2 separate regions of the Homo sapiens genome follow, and region 1 is linked to region 2. The links are contacts of gene promoters, found by promoter capture Hi-C in human tissues and cell types (Jung and others, 2019). All regions are on one chromosome and are shown on one strand. Each heading gives the region's core, a stretch centred on a gene start or on the middle of the fragment in contact. The rest is flanking DNA. Distances are from core to core; before and after follow the strand shown. Region 1 has its middle 24 kb from the start of MED9. Region 2 holds the start of RASD1 (ras related dexamethasone induced 1).

Region 1 (5,610 bases), core at 295-2,794, 44 kb before region 2:
GGCTTGGGATGTCGCCAGCATGCAGGAGCCCTGAGAGGAGGATCAGTCCCTTCCAAGAGGGATATGAGGGAGGGGGAAGCCTCCTGGGCTGCCACTGCTCCTGGCAGCAGCCCTTCCAGAGGGAGGCTCCTCCCTGAGGGCAGGGGAGCTTCCTTTCGGAGGAGAGGGCAGGCTCCTTCGCTGGGCAGAGCGGTGGTCTGGGCATTGCTGAAGCGGCCAGTGGAGACAGGGATCCCAGCCTTGAGATTCACCCTCTGCCTCCCATGGGAATCCTAAGTAAGAAAATGATGCTTCTGACTGACTGTCTGGCAGCCCCTGGTGAAGAGCTGTCCCTACCCACTCACCTCTGCAAATAGCAGAATGGCATATGGTGGCAGAAGGAAGGGTCCAGAAGGTAGTTCTTCTGCGGAATGACCCATGCGATGGGCTGCTCTGTGACGCATTGGAGTGGGGATCATTTCCTTGCAGTGGAGGAGTGGGTCAGAGGCCGGGCTTGTCACATGGAAGTCCCTCCTGGGGATGGGCCACTGACAGATCCCTCTGTAAACAGCATTTGCATCAGATTCACTGCTCCAGAAAGTGGGGATCAGGGTCCCTGAAGCCAAGGAGCAGGCATAGAAGAGGCCAGAGGTGACTGGCAGCATATTTGACAGGATGCATAAATCTTGTTAAATGGGAGAGAAGCCAAACACGCTGGCTTTGTATGGGCAATTTAGACCTTCCTAGGTCATTCCCTGCAGGGACTGCAGGCCTCAGTGTAGTCTCTGATCTGCAGCAGCTGCAACAGCATCTAGGAACTTGTTAGACTTACTGGTTTTCAGGTTGCTACTTAATCGGAAGTTCTTCAGGTGGGGCCCAGCATTCTGTGTTTTAACATGCCAAGGGGATTCTGACGCATGCTGAAGTTTGAAAGCCACCAGCATAGTGCAATATGAAGTAGGCATTATCATCAATCCCATCTCACAGCTGAGGGAACAGAAGGTCTGAGCCAGTTTTACCCCAAGTTACACAATTAATAGGAAAGACAACAAAATTAGGTGCAGCTGTGAATAACAAAAATCGAACTCCAGAGCACCATGAACTAAACAAAATTGTTTATTTTTCCTTCATGGTCCAAGATAGCTGCTGAAGCTCCAGCCGTTGTGTCCATATTCTAGGCAGCAAAAAGGAGGGAAAGGGCCAGGCGCAGTAGCTCACGCCTGTAATCCCAACACTTTGGGAGGACGAGGCAGGTGGATCACTTGAGGTCAGGAGTTCGAGACCAGCCTGGCCAACACGGTGAAACCCCATCTCCACAAAAAATGCAAAATTAGCCAGGCATGATGGCGTGCACCTGTAATCCCAGCTACTCAGGAGGCTGAGGCAGGAGAATTGCTTGAACGGGAGGTTGCAGTGTTGCAGTGAGCCAAGATCGCGCCACTGCATTCCAGCCTGGGTGACAGAGCGAGACTCCGTCTCAAAAAAAAAAAAAAAAAAAAAAAAAAACCACTGTGCTCCAGCCTGGGTGACAGAGTGACACTTTGCACTTTGTCTCAAAACAAAAACAAACAAACAAAACAAGTAAAGGGAGGAAGGTCCCACCCTGTCCCTGTAGGGGACACTTCCTAAAATTGTATATACGGCTTCAGCTTACATCTCATTGGCTGCAATTTAGTCAATTGCTTCACCTAGCAGAAAGAGAGGCTGGGAGAATAAAGTCTGGGTCCTAAGTGACTATGCATGCAGGTAAAACTTGGGGTTCTGCTGCTATAGAAGAGCCTCGATAATGGGGAACAACTAGGCAGTCTCTGCCGCAAGAGTGTATCTGAGAATCAACCCAGGGCTTCTAATTTCACCATCTGAAGTTATGTTTTTGTTTAAATGTTGTCTTTATCTTCCCCTTTTAGAAGTCCCACCAAAAGCAAGCCTTCTTGGAAGTCTTCTCCGTTGCTGCTGTCTCCCCAATGCCTAGAACGATGCCTGGCTTGTAGTGGTGATCTTTGCTTGCTATTGAATATACTACTTTAAAAATTAAATTAAATACCTCATGTGAGAGAAGCTTTTTCAGGGTCTGGCACATGGAAGGTACTCAGAATGTGGTTGCTGCTATGTATTTAAAGCAGTGCTTCCCAACAAAGCCCCGCTGGCCCCTGGCAAGGTTTACCTCTTAGACTCTCAATCCCACCACCACCGCCTGCCTGCATGTACAGACTTGCACACAAATCTTGGCCCTTTCATTGGACTTTAAGAATAATCAGTGCTGGTCAGGCGCAGTGGCTCACTCCTTTAATCTCAGCACTCTGGAAGGCTGAGGTGGGCGGATCACTTGAGGTCAGGAGTTTGAGACCAGCCTGGGCAACATGGTGAAACCCCATCTCCACCAAAAAAAAAAAAAAAATTAGCCAAGTGTGGTGGTGCATGCCTGTAGTCCCCAACTACTTAGGAGGCTGAGGCAAGTGAATTACTTGAACCTGGGAGGCAGAGGTTGCAGTGAGCCAAGTTTGAGCCACTGCACTCCAGCCTGGTCAACAGAGCAAGACTCTGTCTCAAAAAAAAAAAAAAAAAAAAAAAAAATCAGTGCTGTTTGATTGGGTCTGGAGAATGCAAGCCACAGCCCAAGTAAGCAACTAGATTGGGAGAGAAAATTCATCTCGCCATTTCTTGTACAAGCCTGGAAGTAGGCCTTAAGAACAAAGCTGGGCTCAGGCTGCCGTGATGGGGTGTCTGTCTATTCTGGCGTTTGTCATTTGAGCTTTTCCTTCGTAGGTGCAGCCTTCTTGGGTTCCAGGGACTTGGTGCCCTTACTTACAGCCCATTGGGTGCCTGCCCCTTGTCGCCAGTGTTCAGGTTTGTGGTCACCCCTATGTTGCCTAACTGGGTCAGGCTGGATGGAGCCGGGAGGGCTGTTTGCGTTGGCTGCTTTTCCCTGTCAACTGTCACACACGAATGCAGCCTCCAAAATTCAATTTAACATAAATCTTGCCATTTGGACCAAGGCAAGTGGGCCTTATTCAAATCCGAACAGTCTATTATTGAGCTCGGAAACAGACAATAGCTGATGCTGTGATGTTCAGTTGCAACTGCCCTAATTACAGACAAACACTAATTTCATAGGATTTTTTAGAGTGAAGCAAATCTTTTGAAAGAAGTGTCCTCATTTAAAAACTACAGATCGAGAGGGCTATGAGGGTTCATTTTATTTATTGATAATGTGGACTGCGTCAATTCCTGAATCTCATTTGTTCAAACTCCCAGGGCTGTTGTGAGGAGCAAAATGAAAATGAGGTAATGTTTGTGGAGGTCCCTAATGAAGAGCAAAGCAATCCAACAGCTATAGTAGTATTGTGCGTTCAACGCCCTGCACCTTGCAGCTGCGTCCCATTAACAATGACCTCTGAGCTGTGAGCTCCAGGGCCTCTCCCCTCACTCCGCGGGCCACTCTCCATGGGTCCCTCACCTCCAGCTTCCTCTTTCCTTGAATGTGGCTTCTCAACATTTGGGCCATGACTCAAATGTCACCTCGTTGAGGAAAAGGTGTCCAATCAGTACTTACTGTGGTGCTCCGCCCTGTGTCTTTCCGAGTTCTTAGTCCCATGAGATAATCTGATGCATTGGTTGGCTTGTTTTTAATCTCTCTTCTCCATGGGAGCACCAGCTCCATAAGGGCAGAGACCTTGTCTGTCTTGTTCACACCTGCATCTCCTGTGTCCAGAACAGTGTCTTGCACCTAGTAGAGATGGATGTATATTGATTGGGAGTTTGGCTTGGGGAGGAAAGGAGAAAGTGAACTGTTAAGAAATTAGGGCATTTAGCATTATCTAAGAAACTGAAGCAGTACCTGGGGTCCCTGAGTACCTCGAACAGGTGTGTGGTGTGGTACCTGGAGTCCCCAGGGCCCCTAAGTACCTGGAGCAAGTGTGTGGAGTGGTACCCAGAGTCCCTGGAATCTCTAAGTACCTGGAGCAAGTACATGGAGAGGTACCTGGAGTCCCAGAATCCCTAAGTACCTGGAGTAGGTGGGTGGAGCAGTACCCAGACTCCCTGGAATCCCTAAGTACCTGGAGCAGATGTGTGGAGTGGTATCTGGAGCAGGTGTGTGGCATGGTACCTGGAGTCCCTGGAATCACTAAGTACCTGGAGCAGGTGTGTGGCATGGTACCTGGAGTTCCCTGGAATCTCTAAGTACCTTAAGCAGGTGTGTGGCATGTTACCTGGAGTCCCTGGAATCCCTAAGTACCTGGAGCAGGTGTGTGGAGTGGTATCTGGAGCAGGTGTGTGGCATGGTACCTGGAGTCCCTGGAATCACTAAGTACCTGGAGCAGGTGTGTGGCATGGTACCTGGAGTTCCCTGGAATCTCTAAGTACCTGAGCAGGTGTGTGGCATGTTACCTGGAGTCCCTGGAATCCCTAAGTACCTGGAGCAGGTGTGTGGCGTGGTACCTGAAGCAGGTGTGTGGAGTGGTACCTGGAGCAGGTGTGTGGCATGGTACCTGGAGTTCCTGGAATCTCTAAGTACCTGGAGCAGGTGTGTAGAGTGGTACCTGGAGTCCCAGGATCCCTAAGTACCTGGAGCAGGTGTTATGTGAGAGATTTTGATACCCAAGAAGCTTACAGATTAATATAGTAATTTGCAGTATTCAAATAAGTGCCACTAATGTGTGAGGTGGCACGTGGTAGGAGCAGATGGTTATAAATACAGTAGGGGCTGCAGGGGACACACAGTTGTGGACACTGGAGCTATTCTTCTTGGAGAAGGGCATGGAGTTGCACCTCAGTCAGCAGTCTCCTCTGTCACCTCTGGCATTTTGCACCTGGCCTTCCATGGCTGCTGCCTGTCGCTGTTGGCTCTGGGCCCTTCCTTTGAGCAGCTGTTCCACAGTGGAGGCCCTGGTGCTGCCTCCACTCAGTCACACACTGTGTGTGGCCACAGCTGGCCAGGGTCCAGGCTGGACACAGCACCAACCAAGTGCTCTGTGAGGTCCGTCCTGCAAGACCAGAGCCGTCAGTGGGCAGGAGGAGGCCATGCAGAGGTGGCACTGGTACTGCGCTTTCATTTCAGTTTAGGATCCTCTTTGACATCTTTTCTTTTTGAGATGGAATTTTGCTGTTATTGCCCAGGCTGGAGTGCAATGGCGCAATCTCAGCTCACCACAACCTCTGCCTCCCGGGTTCAAGCGATTCTCCTGCCTTAGCCTCCCAAGTAGCTGGGATTACAGGCATGTGCTACCACGCCCAGCTAATTTTGTATTTTTACTAGAGAAGGGGTTTCTCCATGTTGGTCAGGCTGGTCTCAAACTCCCAACCTCAGATGATCTGCCCACCTCGGCCTCCCAAAGTGTTGGGATTACAGGCGTGAGCCACCGCGCCCAGCTACTCTTGACATTTTTTGAAAGAATGTTCTCTATCTCATTCTCACCCATATATCCCTTATGAGAGAAGCCAGGAAACCAGTTCTGAGGATGTCAGTCTGGCTAGTAAAACCCTGAGGATTCCATTTTCAAGGGTACCTTGACTGTTGTGTTCAAAGAAAGCTTTGAACAACAAATGTAAAAACCCTGCCAAGCCAAGTCCACCGAGTAGCTCATTAAAATGTATTTAGGTTGAGGCTTATTTTTTTAAGCTTACTTTATC
Region 2 (5,061 bases), core at 415-2,914:
GTGGGTCCTGACCCTCAAGCGGGCATGACGGTTTCTTGAAGCCTAGCAGAGGCTGGATAACTTCACATCCCTCCCCCACCCCGCGCTCACTCTTAGGTCTTTGAGAAGATAAATCCACCCTCGGCTGGGCCCTCGCTCCCAAAGTTATGGGGGTGGCGGGCCTCAATGGGGGACCGGGGGTGGGGAATAGTCCCAGTCTTGGCCCGTTCTCTTTCCTTCCGGAGCAGATGACCGTCCCTTCTCGGTTCAGTGGCGCCTCCCCAGTGCTGGGGGCGGATCGCCGGGAGGGGAGACGCCAGTCCGCGCGCGCTCCCGGCCTGGGGCGCACCGGGCCGTTGGATTTGACTTAACAAAAAGGTCCTCCTTAGGTTGTGTCGCCAGCGCGGCGGGGCTCCTAGCTGATGACGCAGCGCTCCTTGTCCTTGGCCTGGCTGCCGGCGCTGGCCTTCTCGCGGATGTACATGAGGTCGCTGTGTACGCTGGGCCGGCGCGCGAAGGGTGCCACGATGCCAAAGGCGTCGCCCGGGTCGCCGCCGCCGCCGCCGCTGCCGGCCCGCAGCAGCTTCTTGTTCCGCAGCGCCTTCTTGTGCAGCACGTCGCAGTACTGCACCGAGACCTTGCGGTGCAGGTCTGGGCTCATCTCGCTGGGCAGCTTGGCCATGGCGAAGAGCGCGCGGAACATCTGGTCCAGGCTGCTGTTCTTCTTGGCCGAGATCTCGAAGTAGGCGCAGCGCTGGGGGTCGTCGCCCACCAGCTGCTCGATCTCGCGCTGGTCCACCTCGCGGTAGAAGTCGCGGTCACCCTTGTTGCCGCAGATGACCAGGGGCACGTCCACGTTCTCCTTGGTTTTGTTCTTGAGGCAAGACTTGGTGTCGAGGATCTGCTGCCTGAGCCGCTGCACCTCCTCGAAGGAGTCGCGGTTGTCCAGACTGAACACCAGGATGAAAACGTCTCCTAGAGGGGGCACAGAGAGCAGAAAAGGAGAAGGTGAGGGTGGCCGCCCAGGGGACAAGTCGGGCTGACTTTGAGGCCGCGCGGGGCGCGCTAGCCTCTCTAAGCGCGAAGCGCACTACTCGGCGCGCGGCAGCCGGACCGGCGCTCGCGGGGCGCCCTGGCCGAGGGTTCCCCGCCCTTCCCTCCCGCACCTGCCCGGCCCCCGGCTCACCTGTGAGGATGGAGAGGCGCCGCATGGCGGGGAACGGGTGGTTGCCGGACGTGTCGAGGATGTCGAGCTGGTAGACCTCGCCGCGGATGGAGTAGAACTTGCGGTGGAAGTCCTCGATGGTAGGCGTGTAGGCGTCCTCGAAGCGGCCGGTGAGGAAGCGCGACACGATGGCCGTCTTGCCCACCTTGGACGAGCCGAGGATGACCATGCGATAGCAGTTCTTGGCCGGGATACTCAGCTCCGAGTCGCTCGGGCACATCTTCTTGATCATCGCGGCCAGTTTCATTGGGCAGAGGGGCCGCGAGGGCGGGCGCGGGGCCGAGAGAAGGGCAGAGAGCGGCTGAGGGTCGCTGGGGTGGCACGCGGGGTGAGCGGCTGGAGGGCTCTGCTCGGGCTGGGCGCGGCTCGGGCTTGGGGCTCCGGCTCCGCTCGGGCTGGGCTCGGGCTAGGCTGGGCTCGGCTGGGGTTCTCCCAGGATCTGGGCACAGGCCGCTTGCTCTGGCTTTGGCGCCCGGCCGCCGCCCTTATATGCAGCCTGCTCGGCTGCCCCGCCCCGGCCCTCCCAGCTCGGTGCGTCACGCCCCGCGGGGCCCGCCTCCCCCGCACCGGCTCCCAGTCCCGGCGACCTCGTCACCCGCTGCCGGGCTCCTGCTCTCTGGGCGCGGGGGCTGGGGGGAGCAGTCCAGGGTCGGGCTGAGGCTGGAGGCGCTCGGACTCCGCTTTTCCACTGCCGCGGGCTCGGCGGCCGCAGGGGCGTCGGGGTTCTGGTCCCGGCGGTGCCCCTGTCCCTCTGCGACTTCGGGCAAGGACCCCCATTCCTGCACCTCCCGCGCGCGTACACTTATTTTCTTTGGTTCTCAGTTTCCCCAGAGAATAGGAATCTAGTAAGTAACCCAGTAAGCGCAGCAGCGTTTGCTGAGTGCTTGCGCGGACCGTATATTGCAGTCCTCAGAGCACAGCCCCAGCCCCAGCCCCCTTCCGCTCCGGTCCCCAGCCGGGCTCTTGTTCCCGGGAGGCGACCGCCGGGCGGACGCGGGGTTTCAGGGCCTCAGGCGCGGAGCTCGGCACCGCGCGCTCGGGCCGCCAGAGGGCAGCAGAGGGCCCGGCCGGCGGCTCGGGGAGGCTGTGGCCGCCGCGGGCAGAGCTAGAACAGAGGCTAGGAGCAGGCGGGTGGGGAGCGGCAGGGATGGAGCAGGGGTCTCAGGGCGCCTTGCTGGGGCCCAACAGGAGCGGTCCCCAACCCCGCGCTCTGCTGCAGGCCTCAGCCTGCTCCTTTCTCCCAGCCAGAGATGCTCTGTGGTATGGAGGGCTCTGCAGCCAGCGGCCCACCCCGTCCATCATAGCATTTTGGGCTTTTACTGTGCCGCGCGTGGGCCGACGTTCTCATTGTCTAGCTGAGAGACCTGGAGCTCAAAGCCACAGCGAGCCAGGAAGGCCCTGGGAGCACAGCACAGCCTCTTGCTTTCTCCTGGGCCTCAGTTTTCTCTTCTGGAAGATACTGATTCTGGTTCTGTGATTAAGGATGAAAATATGCAAATGCTTTAGGAGGGCGGGGCCTGGTAATAACAATAGCAACAATAACAGTAGTATTGACCCATGAGGCCTGGTGGGGGTACTCTCAAGAGCACACCAGGTCGATCAGTAACCAGGAGTGGGGTGATGTTGCTGAACATTGGCAACAGGCTGTCTGGAGCCAGCTCCTCAGCCCTGAGCTCTTGAGGCAGTCACTGCTCCTCAAGGCAACCTGTGTGCTCAGTGTTTTGCTTTGGCCACGTCTGACTTACGAGAAAACTAGGGAGCCATTAGCTGGCACCACCGGCCCAGCTGTCAGGTGGTGGTCTGCAGGCAGTGCTGTGAGTGCCATACCACCCACCCCATGCCTACCCACCTCCCTCCCACGCTGGCACTTGCTGTAGGGGCTGCTGCAGGACACCACTAACTTGTTTCTCAGCCCAGCTTGGCCCCCATCCTCAGAGTCCCTGCATCTCTCCCAGGCCTCACTCTTACTGTCAGATATTTCAAATGCACGCATCACACAGTGAGCATCCAAGGGCTCATCAGTGGCCCTGGCCTGGCTCTGATTCCTGGTGTCACTTATGCAGCAGTTATCCGACAGGCTAGCTGGGGCTGGAGCCCCGCCATTCTTGGTTCCTGCCCCCATCTGAGGTATGTCTGCCAGAGTCTGGGAGAAGGGGAGAAGGAACTGAGTCGCAGCCCTGGATATAGGGCTGCAGTGGTGCAGGGTGTTCACTGCATAAAGGAGCCAGTTGAGGGTACATGGGGGGGCTCAGTTAAGGTACGGACCTGAACCACCTTCAGACTGAGCACCGCCTTCCTGTGCCTCCCACAGCGGCACTGCATGGGCAGCCGGGCTCTAACTTGGGATGACTGATGGCCAGGGCTATAGTGAAGGTGGACCCCACACAGCCATTGCCTCCTGGGGCTCTAGTCCCAAGAGGGTCCATTTGATATGAGTGGAGGGCCCGAGGGTCAAGGATCACAGCCCAGCTCTCCCCTGGTCAGTGTCCAGGCTGGCCCCTTAAATCAGGAACATGACACTGGCAGGCACTGATCTAGCCTGTGTCCTCAGCCACAGTGATTCCTGGTACCATCTGTGCATGGCCGTCTGCCCTACGGATGCTGGGTTGTGAAGACCCAGGCCCACCTGCCATTCCCATTCTGAATGCCCCAGAGCGCCTCCTGTCAAGGAGGTGGCCTCTGGGACTTTACTCCTCAAGCAGCAAGCCAACTTCCTTGTTTCCGCCCTCGTCTTTTCTTTTAAAAGGGCATCTCTTTCCTTTTATTACAAAAGTAATAAATGCTCATGGTTTTTTAAAAACCCAAGCCATTTCAGAAAGGACCAGAATGAAAGAAGCACTGGGATCAGGCCTCTCTCGGCCACACCCAGGACAGCCTAGCCACCAATTCTGTGGGGTGGCATCTCCTGATGTCCCCACATGGGCGGACTCCCAACTGCATGAAGGAAGTCTTACCCCGGTGCAGCCTCTGCCACCCAGCTCTTTGTTCATGCAGGTGCCCTTTTTCCTTCTTCTGGGGTTTGCCTGTGTGACTTTATGCCAGGCCCTACCCTAGGCTGGCTAATCAGAGTGGCCGGGGAGGACTGGGGGCTGGAAGACAAACAGGAACAACTCGCAACTCACAGAACCATCCGCCCCGTGGATCCCGGAGTCCCACAGAGAGGGAGCACGTGTACTGGGCTTCCCAGCACTCCCGCCGCCTGGGCCCTGTCAGCCATCGCGGCATTTGATGTCCAGGTTGATCACAGTCCCATGCTGTATGCAATAAATAATTCTGTTTTCTGTGTGTTTGGGGCATGAGACAACAAACAGCGTATATGAGGCTATGAGCCTGTCTGTAAATAGTATTTACCTGCAGTGCAGCAATTTTGCTGCTTAGAGGGGAGGGGAACTGTTTAAAATATTTGACAATGTCGGGGGTGATCTGGGGGTGGGCAGGTGGACCCACCCCCCCCCCACCAGCCCCAGGCAGGAAATGCCAGCCACACAGCCTCATTTGAGGGCAAAGAGCAATTAGAAGGTTCTTGAGAGCTGGGCCAGAGGAGAATGCTGGGCACCCCATCAGAGCTTTGCCTGTTGTGGTGTCCTGAGACAGAGTCCACACAAAGGCCAGAAGTGGCTACTTCAGGTGACAGGAACCCAGAGCACCCTCGGGCCTGGGCATTGCCGTGCTGGCCCGTGCGGCCAGAGCCCATCTCTACCAGCGCCTTGGACAGAGGAGGCCCTGAGGCACGCTTCTATCCTGTGTGGCCCTGGTACGCCACCTCCTGAAGAGGAGGAAAGGGGCAAATAGAGCTGGCTTTGCGTTCCCTCTGACAGGCTCCCCTCATCAAGCTGAGATTTTAACTCTGGTAGATT

Evidence for each region. The method cuts DNA at HindIII sites, captures the fragments that hold promoters and counts their contacts. A contact is called where the count stands out against the background at its distance.
Region 1: a fragment that was not itself captured here is called in contact with the fragment with the promoter of RASD1 in region 2 in 1 of the 25 tissues and cell types used here (mesendoderm cells).

Annotation. Positions count from the first base shown.
Region 1 is chr17:17,450,480-17,456,089 of GRCh38, forward strand. No RefSeq gene overlaps it. Among named protein-coding and RNA genes, the nearest start is that of MED9, 24 kb to the right of the region's middle. RefSeq lists an enhancer at 1-113. The HindIII fragment of the contact is 3,536 bases long and covers 1-3,312 here.
Region 2 is chr17:17,494,731-17,499,791 of GRCh38, forward strand. RASD1 (ras related dexamethasone induced 1) reads right to left here and starts at 1,665. Exons shown (of 2, transcript NM_016084.5): 1 at 1,166-1,665; 2 at 1-954. The coding sequence starts at 1,451. The coding sequence ends at 395. RefSeq lists silencers at 1,596-1,815, 1,976-2,105, 2,156-2,385. The HindIII fragment of the contact is 34,145 bases long and covers 1-5,061 here.